Regions from separate parts of the Homo sapiens genome. Here region 1 is linked to region 2. The links are contacts of gene promoters, found by promoter capture Hi-C in human tissues and cell types (Jung and others, 2019). All regions are on one chromosome and are shown on one strand. Each heading gives the region's core, a stretch centred on a gene start or on the middle of the fragment in contact. The rest is flanking DNA. Distances are from core to core; before and after follow the strand shown. Region 1 overlaps ABR (ABR activator of RhoGEF and GTPase). Region 2 holds the start of YWHAE (tyrosine 3-monooxygenase/tryptophan 5-monooxygenase activation protein epsilon).

Evidence for each region. The method cuts DNA at HindIII sites, captures the fragments that hold promoters and counts their contacts. A contact is called where the count stands out against the background at its distance.
Region 1: a fragment that was not itself captured here is called in contact with the fragment with the promoter of YWHAE in region 2 in 1 of the 25 tissues and cell types used here (pancreas).

Annotation. Positions count from the first base shown.
Region 1 is chr17:1,056,134-1,059,904 of GRCh38, forward strand. ABR (ABR activator of RhoGEF and GTPase) reads right to left here. Exons shown (of 23, transcript NM_021962.5): 11 at 2,612-2,734; 12 at 1,837-1,912; 13 at 865-969. Among named protein-coding and RNA genes, the nearest start is that of MIR3183, 35 kb to the left of the region's middle. The HindIII fragment of the contact is 4,335 bases long and covers 1-3,418 here.
Region 2 is chr17:1,398,830-1,402,183 of GRCh38, forward strand. It overlaps YWHAE (tyrosine 3-monooxygenase/tryptophan 5-monooxygenase activation protein epsilon), which reads right to left and starts at 1,393. Exons shown (of 6, transcript NM_006761.5): 1 at 1,218-1,393. The coding sequence starts at 1,281. RefSeq lists enhancers at 1-615, 616-1,253, 1,254-1,891, 2,834-3,354. The HindIII fragment of the contact is 19,322 bases long and covers 1-3,354 here.

The sequences.
Region 1 (3,771 bases), core at 1-2,500, 340 kb before region 2:
GCAGAGGGTGGTCAGCGGATCCCCTCAGCCTCCACCCCAGGCCGGCGGGAGGCAGACGGGGTATGAGACTCAGCTGAGTCTTGGTCCAACATCACCACCTGGTGGCCAGATGAAAAAGTTTCCGAAGGCCACGGCGGCCTTATATGTGAGCTGCCCGGGGTAGGGCTAGGGGGTCCTTCTCTCCTCCACTCAGCCTGGGGGGGTCCAGCACACCCACCATCCTGGCCCAGGGACTTAGTACCATTCCCCATGGGTACTGTCTCTCCCTCCAAATCCTGCCTATCCTGGCACTGAAAACTGACCAATATGATAAATCATTCTGCTAATGATTTATGTCGAGGAAAGCTTGCCTTCAGGACCCCGTTCACAAAGTGGACCCTTTCCCAGCACACAGGCAGCTAGAATACACCCACTCCGGTCAGTTCCCAGCCCTGATCACAGCTCCCCACTGCTCAAAACCCCCCCAGACTCCCGGGCTTACAGCATGAATTCCAAACTCCCTTGCTTGGGATTCAAGGCCTTTCAAGAGCTGGTCCCTGGAAACTTCCAGCCTCATTTCCCATACACCATTTTATCTACCGGGTCTGCTCTCTCATGAATATATTAACAGCACAATCTCAGTGCACCAGGGTGCCAGTTCTCCCAAGCCAGACAGAGGGGCCCAAGGAAAAGCTGGGGTCATCTGGGAACTCAGTAGACAGTCACCCCTACCCAAGCTGTGTCCTGGCCACTCAACAGTCTCAGCACAGCCGAGCAGGGATCAGCCATTTACAGCCACATGTCTGTCTGAGTCCTTACGGGAAGCCGGCCACGCTCTGAGGGCTGGGACCTGCCGGTTGGGCCACCTCTGGTTCCCGAGCTTACCGTCTTTATTGCTGGTGACAGGAATGTTGTGTACAGTCCTAAGCTTGAAACAGGATCCTGTGAGCACCTGGAGCTCCACTGAGCTCAGGACAAAGGCCTGGAGATCTGGAGGGAGAGCCGAGAGAGAAGGGAGCGTGGGCACTGGTCCACCAGGACCGGCTGCTCTTCCCTGGGGGCTGCTGCAGGAAGACGGCTTAATCCCTGGGGCAGACTTGGTCCTTGCGAGGGAGGGGGAAGGATTTGTGGACACAGCAGGACTGGTGTAGATGCTGCGAGAGGGGTCAGAGTAGGAGAATCTAACTGAAGAGGTTTGTGTGTGTGTGTGTGTGTGTGTGTGTGTGTGTGTGTGTGTGTGTGTGTGTGTGTGTGGTGTATGCGTTTTGTTTTCGTTTTTTTTTTAAACGGAGTCTCACTCTGTCGCCCAGGCTGGAGTGCAGTGCTGTGATCTCAGCTCACTGCAACCTCCGCCTCTCAGGTTCAAGGGATTCTCCTGCTTCAGCCTCCTGAGTAGCTGGGATTACAGGTGCCCACCACCACACCTGGCTAATTTTTGTGTTTTTAGTAGAGACGGGGTTTCACCACGTTGCCCAGGCTGATCTCAAACTCCTGACTGGGATTACAGGCGTAAGCCACCGTACCCAGCCTCTGTGTATGTGTGTATGTGTGTGTGTGTGTGTGTGTGTGTGTCTCTGTGTGTGTGTGTGTGAGAGAGAGAGAGAGGTAGAGAGAGAGAGAAAGCCCAGGCTGGGCTCTGGGTCCAGTCCCAGGACTAAATCATCATGTCTTTCAGCCAATCAGTTAGATTCTTTGGGTCTCAATTAATCCGTAACATCCTTAAACGCTCACCCTGGCACCTCTGAGGGTGACTGCGAGGGCCAAAGACGTGATACTGGACATGAAACGCTTAGAAATACAAAAGGCCCATCAATGCCACGGACATCATTGGGGAGCGTGGAAGAGGCAGGAATTTACCCTTCTTCTGTAGTTTCTGAATTGCTTCTCTCCACTCTGACCTCTCGTAGTCCGAGGACAGTAGGAACAGGTAACTCTGAAGAGAGGAGATAAGCATAAAGTGGGTGACCACAGTCAGGCAAAGCGTACTCCCAGATCCTGGGGACCCCAACAAAGCTCCTTTTATCTTTTTTTTTTTTTTTTTTTTGAGACAGAGTCTCGCTCTTGTTGCCCAGGCTCTAGTGCAATGGCAAAATCTCGGCTCACTGCAACCTCCACCTCCCGGGTTCACGCCAATCTCCTGCCTCAGCCTCCTGAGTAGCTGGGATTACAGGTGCCCACCACCACGCCCGGCTAATTTTTGTGTTTTTAGTAGAGACAGAGTTTTGCCATGTTGGCCAGGCTGGTCTCAAACTCTTGACCTCAGGTGATTCGCCTGCCTCAGCCTCCCAAAGTGCTGGGATGACAGGCATGAGCCACTGTGCCCGGCCCAAAGCTCCTCCTTATCCAGGCACAGCTGACCTTGCAGGAGGAGGCAGCTGGGGGTGGGTGGGTGAAGGGGGAGCTCCTTCCTGGGAAGCCAAGGTGACAGGAGCGGCTGTGCCAGGGACGGCCAGCAGAGGGCACTCATTCCACACGAGAGGGGAGAGCGAGTCAACAGCTGGAGCCATGGCAGCCTCCTCAGGAAGAGGGGGCCTGAGTTTCCGGTTCGTACAGGTCAGGGCCAGGAGCCACAGAGTGGGCTGCTCTGGACTAAGGAAGGGGCTGTCTTGGTCCCACCCCCACCCATCCTGACCTTTCCATTCCGATTGTGGATCCTGAACGGGATTGTGGGGGAGTTGAGCAGCAGCAGGAACTCATTCTCAAACATCTTCTTCTTCAGGCGCTCGATGGCCCGGCTCTGGCCTTTGTTGGCTTTCTGCAGGAGATGGGGACACAGAGGGTTCCCCTCACACTCGGGCCTTTCTCACGAGCAGCACTAAGCACGACACTCCACTGTGTGTTAACATGCTCTTTACATTTTCCGTATTTCGTGATGTTTTGACATCTTGTGGCAGGAGAGGCGGGTAGCTGGGTGAGAAACTGCTCCCCCACAGGGCTCACTAATTCCTAAGCCTGTCAGTGATGCCCTATGAGCACAGCTTTCATACACACACCCACTGATCCAGAGCCCATGTCCCCAACCACCTTCTCTACCTGACGCTCACTCGCCAAGCCAGCATCTCCTCTGCCCCACGTCACCCAGGGCCAGGGACCAGGTCACCAGAGACCACTCCTCTAGCCCAGGGCTGCCGACATAACGGAAGCCAGCTGGTGCCAAGCCCTTTCCCTGCCCTGTTTCTCCACAGAAAAGCTGTGGCCACACTTTCTTTCCATTCCTGCCTCCTGTTCAAAGCTGGCACCTCTCCACGTGGCCCTGGGCGGGGTGCTATGCCTCCTTCTCTTGAGAACCCTAAATAATACAAATATTACAGTAGTATTAACCTCTCTGTACTGTCACTCTGCTGCCTCTACACATTAAATCCTGGGTACAACAGAGACACCTGCTTAAAGAAACCTCAGACACCTTTCAGCCTGAAGCCCCACCTGCTAGCCTGGCACCAAGGCCCCCATGGCAGGGTTCCAGCCTCCCTGCCCGGCAGACAACCCACCAGGTCCCGTCGGCTCAGCCTCCCCCTCTCACCAGACATTCATCCTCTGCGGGCAGAGCCTGCTCCCTCAATGTTCCAAGTTTCTGTCTGTTTCGTAAAGGACCCCCTCCCTTTTATTAACCACCATTATGCTTCAAGTCTCAGCTCCCAAGGCCATCCTCAAGCTCCTCAGTTAGAATTCACCTCTATGGTGTTTTGTTCTTTTTAACCCACTGGACTGGCAAAATTGTAAAGAATGTTCACAGCCAGTGTTGTGACACTGTGGGGGACAGTCACCCTCACACACCGCAGGGGGAATGCCACC
Region 2 (3,354 bases), core at 143-2,642:
CCCATTAGGGGCAAAAGAACAACGAACAAAGAGGACCTACTAATATTTCTACATAAACCCATTTATTTAAAACGGAAAAAAAGAAAGCAACAGGATCTTCAACCTTCATAACTCAAAAAACCCAGCCTCAGCCGAGCGCCTGGAATAGGTTAAGATCCCCCACGAAGTACAGACCAGCATTCCGAGCCTGCAGAGTCAACCAAAATACAGTTACTGAACACTATTGGAAATAACTTTATTTCAACAGGTCTTCCCATTTGTCATCACGGTGCGCACAAACTGTAAAGTCATCGTTTTTACAAACGGGGGGACGGAGGCTCGGGCTCTACAAAGGCTCGAACTCTCAGAGTCGTGGCCTCCTGGTTCTATCCATCAGAACCCACGGGTGATGGAGCCAGAGAAAGGTTACAGGAACTTCGAGATCTCCTGTTTTAAGTCTGAGGAAAGGGAGGGAGTGAGGATTTTCTGGGCCTCCCCAGAAGACGACGAGGAGGAAAAGCCCCGAAACCCCTCACTACGAGGTGCCGGCCTACGGGAAAGAAACCCGATCGCAGCATGGGAGCCTGCCACCGCCCGAAGACGAACTGCAGTGATTCCCACTCACCCCTCTCCCCCCACCATCATCCACGACTGTCCCCCACCTCAGGCCTGAGGAAGCCCATCGCTCTCAAAGGTCCTCCTTTGTGAGACTCCACGGCCGCCGCCCCACACGGGGCCTCCGGGGAAAAGCCACCGCCCCCACCCGCCATATTTCCCTGAAAGGCGCCCGCGCTACAGCTCCCGGTCTTCGCTCTCTCCCATGTGGCGGGTGCTGCTTCCCCCGTCACCCCACCCAATTGTTCTCCACATCCCAAGGCCGTCCCAGAAGCTCCCATGAGGGTGGCTCGTTCGGAGACAGCACCCGCCATCTCCTCCCCCTCCCCCGCCCCGGGACTCGCCCTCCCCCCAGCCGCCATTTTACAACCAACTCCTCCACCCCGTCGCCCCGGCCTCCCGGCCCGCGAGTTGTTTGCAGTTAAGGACGGCGAAGGGGTCACATTCCAGGGCATAGAGCCTCCCATCGCCCCGGGAGCTCCCAGGCCATTTCCTGCTTCCCGAACCCAAGCCCCCGGGCCAGGCTCGCAGACGATGCCGCCATTTTGTCTCCTGTTCCCGGCCTCTGTGGGCGGCGGCAGAGGGTCCGAGAATTCCAGCCCCCCGTTGCCCCCCCAACTCACCGTCGTATCGCTCAGCCTGCTCGGCCAGCTTCGCCTGGTACACCAGATCCTCTCGATCATCCATAGCGGCAGCGGCTCCGGCAGGGTCTGCGCGACGGATGGAAGCGGATAGTGTCTCCGACTCTCTCAGCCTCTCGCTCCGCGTCCGGGCAGCAAAAATGGCGGCGCCTCAATCCGGGACTTCCGCCTGCGCACGCGGACAACTGCTCAGCTCTATGGCAACCGCTCCCTGGCAACTGGCGCGGGGGGCGGGTCCTGGAACTCGGCGCCCGAAGCGGCTGGAACGAGCGCACGAGACGCCTCTCCTCTGTCGGCTCAGCGGGCGCCGGAGCCCAGAGGCGGGAACTGCGACTGCCGAAAGGGAGCGGCCCCCGGGGAACGAGAAGGGCTGAGGCGGGGCCGGCCGGGACTGCTCCTGAAAAAAGCCAGCGAGAGACCTGGGTCAGACCGGGGCCCGAGGCCCGACCTGCGGAAAAGAACGACGGAGGCTGTAACGGTTTCTGTCATGGCAGGTCTTCTTTCCCGAAATCTGAGGCTGTCACTACCGCGCCCTGGTTTTCTTTTCTTTTTTCTTTTTTCTTTTTTCTTTTTGAGACGGAGTTTCCCTCTTGTTCCCCAGGCTGGAGTGCAGTGGTGCGATCTCGGGTTACCACAACGTCCGCCTTCCCGGGTTCAAGTGATTCTGCTGCCTCAGCCTCTCGAGTAGCTGGGATTTCAGGCCCCCGCCACCACCCCCAGCTTTTGTATTTTTAATAGAGATGGGGTTTCACCATGTTGGCCAGGCTGGTCTCGAACTCCCGACCTCAGATGATCCGCCCCCCCTCGGCCTCCCAAAGCGCTGGGATTCCAGGGGTGAGCCACCGCGCCCAGCCCACGTCCTAGTTTTCTCGGCCAAGCCTGGTCATGGGCCTTTTTCAGACACTTTTAGACTCAGGGTAACGAACCGGGCCCTGGCCGGGCGCGGCGGCTCATGCCTGTCATCCCAGCACTTTGGGAGGCCAAGGCGGGAGGATCACAAGGTCAGGAGTTCGAGACCAGCCTGGCCAATATAGTGAAACCCCGTCTCTACTAAAAATACAAAAAATTAGCTTGGCATGGTGGTGCATGCCTGTCATCCCAGCTACTCAGGAGGCTGAGGCAGGAGAATCTCTTGAACCCGGGAGGCGGAGGTTACAGTGAGCCGAGATCCTCCCATTGCACTCCAGCCCAGGCGACAGTGTGAGACTGTGTTTCAAAAGAAAAATTATATATATATACAAAAATTAGCTGGGCGTGGTGGTGCATGCCTGTAATCCCAGCTACTCCAGAGGCTGAGGCAGGAGAATCGCTTGAACCCGGGAGTGGGAGGGTGCAGTGAACCGAGAGCACACCATTGCACTCCAGCCTGGGCAACAAGAGCACAACTCTGTCTCAAAACAAAGAAAAAGAAAAAAAACGAACTGGGCCCTGTTACAGTTGTCAGGGACAGGGGAGCTCCAGTTTTCACGCCTCAACTTTCCCCTCACACTGATCTTTGTCTTCTCCTGTTTAACCTTTTTCCCTCCCTAGGCCCACTATGAATAGGAGCAGGGAATTTGTTAGATGAGGGTGGTGTGGAGTACATGGTACAGAAGAGTTGGACCAAGATCAAATAAAGATTGTGGAGGCAGGAATAACTCAGTGAACATTGCTTCAGCTTCTGGCGCTTGGGAGGCCCATGCGGAAGGATGACTTGAGCCCAGCCTGGGCAACATAGCGAGACTCCATGTCTATAAAAACGTTTTTTTTTTTTTTTATTTGAGTCGGCATCTCGCTCTGTTGCCCAGGCTGGAGTGCAGTGTCGTGATCTCGGCTCACTGCAACCTCCACCTCCCGGGTTGAAGCAATTCTCCTGCTTCAGCCTCCCAAGTAGCTGAGACTACGGGCACATGCCACCACACCCGGCCAATTTTTTGTATTTTTAATAGAGACGGGGTTTCACCATGTTAGCCAGGGTGGCCTCGATCTCCTGACCTCGTGATCTGCCCACCTCGGCCTCCCAAAGTGCTGGGATGACAGGCCTGAGCCATATCTTAGCAGTTTCAGAGGCTGAAGCAGGAGGATCTCCTGAGTCCAGGAGGTTGAGGCTGCAGTGAACTGTGATTGCACCAGTGGACTC